Regions from separate parts of the Homo sapiens genome. Here regions 1 and 3 are each linked to region 2. Evidence: promoter capture Hi-C in 16 types of primary human blood cells and fetal thymus (Javierre and others, 2016). All regions are on one chromosome and are shown on one strand. The core of a region is centred on a gene start or on the middle of the fragment in contact, and the rest is flanking DNA. Distances in the headings are between cores, read along the strand shown.

Region 1 (2,702 bases), core at 38-2,537, 170 kb before region 2:
TGGCTTATCTTGTTCATTTTGGTAACCCCAGGGCCCAGGCACACAGTAAGTAAGCTAAGTAAATATTGCTAAATTAAACAATAACCTTTTGGAAATTTTTTCCATTCATAAACATTTTTATGCAAGTGGAGTCATATTCTACCTACCATTTTGTAACCTACTTTTCTGTATAGCAATGTATCATTAGCATTTTCCAAATCAATAAATGTTCTTCCATATTATTTTAGTAGTAGCATGGTATTCAGTTATAAAAGCAGACCATAATGAATGTAAATGGTACCTTCATGTTATATATTTAGGTTTTTCTTTTCTAAATTTTTATTCTCCCAAACAAACTTTATATTCTTGTACATATATGGGTGCACAACTTTTCAGGTCAAAGGGCACACATACACATTTTCAAGGTGTTCCATGCATCCTACTTTCTAGTAGGTATACACATTTCTAGCACAATGAATTATACTAGAATGCTCATTCCATGAAGCAAGGATTTTGTTCATTTATTTCCTGTACCATAGTGAATCTAGCCTAGAGCAATGCCTAGCACAGAGTAGGTTCTTAATAAATATTTGTTGAATTTGTTTCCTTTTGCCCTCACCAATAATGTTTAATGCTACTTTAAAAAGTTTTTTTTTTCAGTCTGATAGCAAAAATAATGGTTCCTATATTTACAAATTGTAAACTTATCACACCCTCTGCCCCCAAAATGCTTAGTAAGCCTGCTGGAATTGGACCCTAAATATTTAAAAACTGTTCTCAGAACCAAAGCTAAACAGAAACAAGGTCTTGTGGAGCCAGAATCTCTGGCTTCAAAGATTCCCTAGCATTCGACATACTATCACCTGTACCCACTTACACATCGCTTAGAGCCAAGCATCCCATCCCCATGGGAGATTACTGCAGATAAAGGAAGGCAATGAGATTCGTGGTAAAAGCATTCATACTGCCATTTTTCTCCACGAAGAATACATCTTTGGTTTGTTTTTGTTTTTGTTTTTTATACAAAGCTTACCTACTGACCCAGAAAAAAAGAGTTTTTTGTATTTTCTCTGAGGATTTAGACGATGTAGGCTTCTGTTAGCCAACCCCATGGGAGAAGACAATGGCATCATCAGACTTCAAAGATGTCTTGAAGAGTGCTCCCTGGGGCTCTGTGGGTGCACTGCTGTGTGTGTGTGTGTGTGTGTGTGTGTGTGTGTGCATCTGTGTGCGTGCGCGTGCACGTGTGTGTGGCTGCAGTCAGGGAGTGCCAGTCAGGAAGTAGCCAGGAATCCCTCCAAAAGAATCTAAGTGGGAGTTTTCTTCTGTGTGTCCTTGCTCAGCTTAGCCTGCTGGGCTTTGAGTAGTTAGGAGGCCACTGGACACACTGTGAGATGAAAGGAAGTTGCATTGACTTCCAGGCCACTTTCATCTGATGCCACAGGAAGAAAAAAAAAAATAGAATGGGTCCCCGATTCAATGGAGAAACAAGACACTGGAAATGCAAATATTCCCAATGTGCTATGCAAAGGAGCCAAGCCAGGGTCCCCACACCTGTCTTCCCAGGGAAGGTCGTGATCCACACACAGGAAGCTTGGGTGGGTGGGTCTCATCATCAAAGCAAAAAGCCTTCCCTTTGAAGAATTCATAGAAACAAAATGTCAATGAAGAGTCACACACCCAAGAAACAAACACTATTCAGATGGAGTAACAAGCTTTTACTTGTAGAACACACTCTTAATTTATCAGAGCACCTTTCCCCTGGCATTGTAATTGTTGTCTTACAAACAATCCCTAGACAACAGCAAAGACAGATGGTATCTCTATCTTTAGAAAATAAACTTTTAGGTAATAAACTTGAGGCTCAAAGAAGTTATAGTTCTTTACCCAGATCCTAGAAATAGTAAATGGAAGAGCTGGAGCTTAAACCAGGCAGTGTAGAAAGTCTCTTCGTGGTTTCACTAGATAAAACAGCAGCAGCAGCTGTGGCAATATTTATTCCTATTTTTTTTCAACATCCATGTTCAGGATACCTTCTCATTAATATTTGAGCTAGACTTTAAAGAAGATTTCAACAGTGGTTAAGATCAAGGCCTCAAGAGTCAGACTGCTTGAATTTGAATCCCAACTTCACCCCTAACTAGCTGTATGACCTTGGAAAAGTCACTTAATTTCTCTGTGCTTATTGCCTTTTCTGAAAAATATGGATAATAATAGTATCTGTCTTATGAGATAACTGTGAGAATTAAATGAATTATTATATCTAAATAATGTAGAACAGTGCCTGGGACAATAAGTGGTATGGAGGTGCTGGCTAAGATCACCATTGGGCCTGCCTGTTGTTGCATGTGGCACACAGCACCTTCTGCGCCTTCCACCTTAGTACACACCTAAGGCTGGCCTGCCTTAGCCCCCACTGCATTAGTGGCCCTGATTTGATTAAATGCACCCGGTCTCTCCTACCTGCCCTAGAGGTGAGCACTTGACGAAGAGAGAGGAGATGACCCATAGGTTGGCTTGGTATGTTGAAATGACCTGGGCAATCAGACCCTCCTTTGATGCCTGAACTAGGCTACCCAATTAGCAGTGAGAACTGAGGATGAGAGAGTGGGCAGAGTCTGAGAGAGACAGCATCTGTCCTTTATTTCCATCTTCACATCTCTACGTAAGCCACCATTGTCTCCTGCCAGGTGACTTCAGTGACCTAATGGGTCCCCCTGCTC
Region 2 (3,000 bases), core at 244-2,743:
CCACCACACCCTGGGCTGAGTGGGAAGGCTGCCCTTCCTATATGTATGTTAGGCTAGCTTCTCTAGAAGATAGAGCCTGGGGCAAAAATTGAAAGTGAGATGTTTCATTTGGAAGATGCAAATCCATGGCAGCAAAGGTGAGACACAAGGAAGCGAGGCAAAGAAGGATGCAAAGCCACACTAAGTGGTGTGTTTCCTTGATGGCTATTATGTCACAAACAGCCATGGAGACACCCAGAAGGTCACTGCACAAGACCTTTCAGCATGACACGTGGGATTCAGCTGGATGAGCGGCAAGGCAGACTGTCATGAAGCAGTCCATGGAGAGAGGAAGAAGGAATGTATGTGTCCTGCTCCCTCTCAACTCCTATTTTCCACTGGTCAAAGTTTTCCTAGTGGGGGTTAACTCTTCTGCACTTCAGGATTGTATCACCCAGTCCTAATGGCAGCCTCTCAGGAGACCAGTTCCCACCCCATGCTGGAGAGTGTTTTCATCCAAATCTGGAAGAGGTAAGAGGAGCCAGAAACTATAGGCATGGGGCTAGGAAGGGCCCATACTCCAGGACTTGTAGCCGATCTGACCCAAGTGGCAGAACTGCCTGAGCTCAAGTCAGGCAGGGCAGCAGCCTAGGCAGAGTGAGTGGCAGAATGTTCTGGAAGCAGGTGGCATCAAGAGCCTTTGAGAAGGCTCATCAGATTTGTGTTTGATGCACTGTGTGACCTTGGACAAGTCACTGAATCTCTCTGAGCCTCAATGTCCTCAACTGTGAAATGGGGCTGATCATACCTATCTATCTCCCAGATCAGAAATAATATTGGTCCCAGTTGAGTGTTGTGCCTGGCACCTAGCAGGCACTCAATACAGAGGAGCCATATTTGTAGAGTTAGGAGTTCTGACTCAGTTCTGGTGGCATTAGCATAGCTGGATTTCCTGAGGAAAGGCCATTGAGTTTTGGTCAGGTAGAGCTCTTGAGCTAGAGTGTGGGGTGACTTGGTAGCTCTGAAAGGAAGGAGAAAAGAAAGAGAAAATGCCACCCAGAAAGGAGCTTCATAGTATCTGTCCATTGCTTTGTCCTCACACAAAACTGGCTATATAATTTGAGGGGCTCACTGATAAATGGACATGTGGAGCCCCTTGTTCAAAAATCATTAAGAATTTCAAGATGGGGCCAGCAGAGTATTGAATCAAGCACAGGGCCCTCCTGAGCATGAGGCCCTGTGTGATTGCAGAGGTCACACACCCACAATGCCTGCCTTACACTTACACGTTGCCAGAGTGCAGTATTTGGCGCCAGAGCTTGGCAATGTTCTATTCTCCCCAGCAACCTCTCTGCCTAAATGTGCCTGGCTTGATGGTGTCTTGGAAACATCCAAGGAAGGAAAGGGATGTTGGAGCTGATTGAAAATACCTCTACCTGAATTCCAAGTGGTGTCATGAACAAGTACATACATAATATAGCAGTTAAGTGCAAATTTGGAATCTGTATGTATGTATAAAGTTGCTGTTGACATGGTTCTAGTAGTTACAGGAGTGTTGCCATGGTGACTGGCAGGGCCAGCTGTTGTTTCATTTCCCCCAAAGAATTGTATGGTAATAATAGACCCCTGGAGAGTCCTCCTGGGACAAGGAATGATGTTAAAAATCTGCCAATTAATGAACAGGTAGTATAAACTGACTTCATCCTCATTTGTTGTAATTAACAGGATTTTACAGGATTTTGATGAGAAGTGGCTAATTTGGTATAGAAATGTGGAGGGTAGACTACTTTTGGAGCCTGGGTTTGAATCTGCACTGTGTCACTAAATAGCTGCATCACTTAATTTCTCTGAGCCTGTCTCCTTATTTAGAAAATGGGGATCATTAAACCAAAGTTGGAGGAACATTGAAAATAAAGGATGTGAAATGCTTAGCTCAGTTTCTGGAGCATTATAGACAGATACTACATGGTTTCTATGATGCCGATGATATTAATGAAATCATCATCATTATAATCATCATAAAGCTTCCATTTATTGAAGGCTTCCACCTATATGTCCCTATGTTGTGTACATTATCTCATTTAATCTTTATAACAACCCTATCAGTGAGTCCATTGTTATCCTCAAGTTATAGATCAGGACACGGAGGTTCAGAGATTTGCCTGAGGTCACACAGCTAGTAAATGACAATGTCAGGATTCAAATTCAGGCAGTCTAACTCCAGAGCCCAGGCTTTTAACCCTTATACACAGTGCCCCTGGGATGAGGATTAATAAATACGTGAAGCCTAAGAGACATGCATTTCTGGATTTCAGTTGGCTCTGAAAGGTTGGTCCTTGATGAAATGGAAAGTATGTTTCCTTTTATAGCAAGGGCAGTGGTGGGGTGGGATGAAGGAGGGAGATTGTTTTAATAAGCACATGCTGATGGGGGCTGCTCTGTGGACCAGCCTTGCTCTGTCTCAGGGGTTCAGCCTTCTCTTCCTGAGGCTGTCCTACTGATTCCTCTGGAGTTGCAGCAACTCCTACCCTGACCTGATCCATGGGTCAGAATCAGGGTCAGGATGAGTCAAGGCTGACTCATTGACTATCCACTCTAATGGCCCTTCCTCCCCAGGGCTCTATGGATGCTGACCTTTGTCCTCTTCCAAACTAAAGAAAAACAAATAAGCATACAAGCACAAAACCAGCCCCTTGGACTTCCTGCTAATCCTATTTGGTTATTTAAGTGTGGCAGGTACCTTCTCTCCTCAGGGCCTTTGCATATGTTTCTACTCCTTCCTCCTGGGCTTCTCTTCGCAGTTCTCATTCTCAGTCCCATTTACTGTTGGGCGAGTTCCTAATCACCTTTCATACCTGCATGTAAATGTTACCTCTTCAGGGAAGCCTTCCCTGATTATCCTCCACTCCAGTCTCTAAGTTCCCCGTCCTGTACTCCAACAGCCACCTGTCTGCCTTTTGTATCACTTAATCAGAATTTTAATTAAATGATTATGAGTATAATGATTTAAGATTTATCTCT
Region 3 (2,700 bases), core at 124-2,623, 190 kb before region 2:
CCAGGTAAAGACTGGGGAGGAGATGCCTGGGAGAAAACTGTTCAGGGAAAGATTTCAGCTGGTCGAACCCGGTGTTGTGTCTGCTCCAAAAAGAGTGTGAAAGAGCAACTTGTTGGCAAGCGGCCTTCCTTTGTGAGTAGCAGAGCTCATTTTTTCTCAGTCCCAGAGGCAAAATCAGACTTGGCTTAAGGCCGTGCTGCTGGGCTGTGGCTGTGTGTGATCTGAGGAGAGTGGGAAGCCAAAGTCCCAGCCAGGGCTGGCCCTCTGTGGCCACCAGCAGCCACTGGCTGTGCCTCTACTGTGATCCCCAGCATGGAGCCTTTGAACGGACCCTGTTATGTGGCATATACAGTGGATGAGGCTAGAAGCCTGGACATCTAGTGATTTCTGACCTTGAGCCTGAGACCTAGGAGGCCTTCTCTGTAGAGTCCAGAGGTAGGACCTGTGGCCAGTGGCACCGACTCCTCACCTGCACCCGGGACCAGGACCAGACTCCTTAGCTGTGCATTCAACATTCTAAAACGTGCTTCTCTTTGGTCTCCTCTCTCTGGCCCATCTCCCCTGGGAGATGGGCACTGGGAAGACCCTACATTTACACCACATCCCTACCACTTCTGTGCCCTGCAACCCTCCTCACCATTTCCTGCTCCTTTTTGGAGACATTCTTCTCACTCTTCTCTGGGCCAAATCCACCCTCCTCTTCTAGTTCTTCCTACCAACTCTCTTACAAGCCTGACAGTTGTAAAGCAGGCCTGCGGGGAAGGTGAAGGTGAATTTGAGGCTAAACCTCTCTGTCATGATCATGGATTTTGGTGTCAGACACACTTGGGATCAAAATCCAGTTCTGCCACTCACTGCTGAGAGACCTGGGGCAGGAACTTCATCTTCTGTAGACTCAGTTTAATCTGTAAAATGGTGGTAATAGCTGTCCCATGGTATTGTGGAGAGAATTAAGAGATGCTGAATATAAATAATATCTCAGGCCCATAGCCAGTCCCTAGTAAATGGAAGCCATTCTAACGCCAAGCCTTCAGATCATAGGTGCTTCTCAAATGTCCACATGGCCGGGCCCCCAATCTGCTCAGGACACCCAAGGGTGAAGCATGTTATTGGCTTCCCAGGGTTTCCTAGTACTATATCATGGAGGCATCTGGGGATTGTGGTGTGATGCTTAGCCAAGAGGCTGCCCTCTGCACCCCCACTTCAGGGAGGCGAGGAAGGGGAGCAGTGTGTGTGTGTGGCAGAGATGGCATTGATTGAGAACTGGCAGACCTGGCTTCCCTGCCAGCGCTGCCATGTTCCAGTGTCTAACCTATAGATGTTGGCTGAATGAGAGGAAATTACATACTCTGTGAGCCTCAGTTCTCTGATCTACACGATGGGGGAATAGTACCTTTTGGGGTTGGTGTGGACACTATATGAAGGAGCTGGAATACTGCAGCTATTTGGAGCCATATTCTAGAACCAAACTGCCTGGGTTCACATCCTAGCTCTGCCACTTACTGGCTCTGCAGTTTTGAACAATTACATCACCTTTTAGTTTGACTTACTCTTATAAAAAGTAAGGACAATGTTAACGTCTATCTGACAGTGCTGTCAAATATGTTTTCATATATGAAATACTTAAAACATTGTTTGGCAGTAGGTAAGTACTTGATAAATATTATCTTCTCTTTTATGATGATGAGAGTGCCTGTTACAGTGCCTGGCATGTCTTAGGGTGCCCAGTAATGAATTTCCTGTCATTCTTCTGCCTGAATCTAAGGGAATATGGTGCCTGAGACTCCATCATTAAGTATTTTTTATTTCCTAGTGTTTGACAATAATATGGAAATGCCCTAATTTGGGGATAATCATACTCTGTGTATTGTTCAATTCAGTTATACGATAATTGGCCATTCTGTGCCAGGTGCCAGGCTGAAGCATTCTCATCAGTGATGCGAAATTGAATGGCATGTGATCTCTGCCTTGGGATCACAGTTTTGTGGGGGGTTTATTTATTTGTGCATTTATTCATTTTCACATTTGTTTGGAGCCTATACCACAAATGTACAGAGTACAACAGGTGTTATGATGAGGTCTGAAGGTACACAGGAAAGGGCAGAGAAGTTTTCCTTTAAGGCGATATTTGAGCCAACCTTGAAGTCTGTGCCAAAGATGGTCAAACCAGGGCATGGGAATGAGTAATGATGGGGGTGAGAAGGACTTGCCAAACAGCATCAAATTTGGAACAAAAGACTGTTGGTTTGGAAGTGCACATCGTTTCTTCCATTGTCACTCACCAAGCAGGCAGCGTGTGCTGGCACAGTGCTAGGGGCTAAAAATAGAGGGGCATAAGACCCACTCTCTGCTCTCCAAATGCTCATAGTCTGTTGGGGGCACACCTTGTTGTCCAGGCCGGAAGGTTGTGCATCTTCCTGCAATCATCCTGCTCCCTCCCCAAGCCTATCAATCACCAAAGCCAGACGGTTACTCAGTGTTGATCACTAAGGGTATATATGGGTGATGTAGTTTGAATATTTGTCTCCATCCGTATCTCATGTTGAAATGTAATCCCGAGTACTGGAGGTGGAGCCTGGTGGGAGGTGAATGGGAGGTGATTGGATCGTGGGGATGGATTTCTTATGAATGGTTTAGCACCATTCCCCCTTGGTGCTTGTCTTTGCGATAGTGAACTCTTGTAAGATCTGGTTGTTTAAA

Evidence for each region. Contacts are between HindIII fragments. The CHiCAGO score rates a contact against its expected background, and 5 or more counts as called.
Region 1: a fragment that was not itself captured here is called in contact with the fragment with the promoter of NAV2-AS5 in region 2 in 1 of 17 cell types (endothelial precursors); the score reaches 5.6 in endothelial precursors.
Region 3: a fragment that was not itself captured here is called in contact with the fragment with the promoter of NAV2-AS5 in region 2 in 1 of 17 cell types (endothelial precursors); the score reaches 5.5 in endothelial precursors.

What each region holds. Positions count from the first base shown.
Region 1 is chr11:19,335,111-19,337,812 of GRCh38, forward strand. No RefSeq gene overlaps it. Among named protein-coding and RNA genes, the nearest start is that of E2F8, 96 kb to the left of the region's middle. The HindIII fragment of the contact is 565 bases long and covers 1,006-1,570 here.
Region 2 is chr11:19,505,736-19,508,735 of GRCh38, forward strand. NAV2-AS5 (NAV2 antisense RNA 5) reads right to left here and starts at 1,494. Exons shown (of 3, transcript NR_049725.1): 1 at 1-1,494. It also overlaps a transcript of NAV2 not described here. The HindIII fragment of the contact is 5,962 bases long and covers 1-2,001 here.
Region 3 is chr11:19,316,510-19,319,209 of GRCh38, forward strand. No RefSeq gene overlaps it. Among named protein-coding and RNA genes, the nearest start is that of E2F8, 77 kb to the left of the region's middle. The HindIII fragment of the contact is 2,836 bases long and covers 1-2,700 here.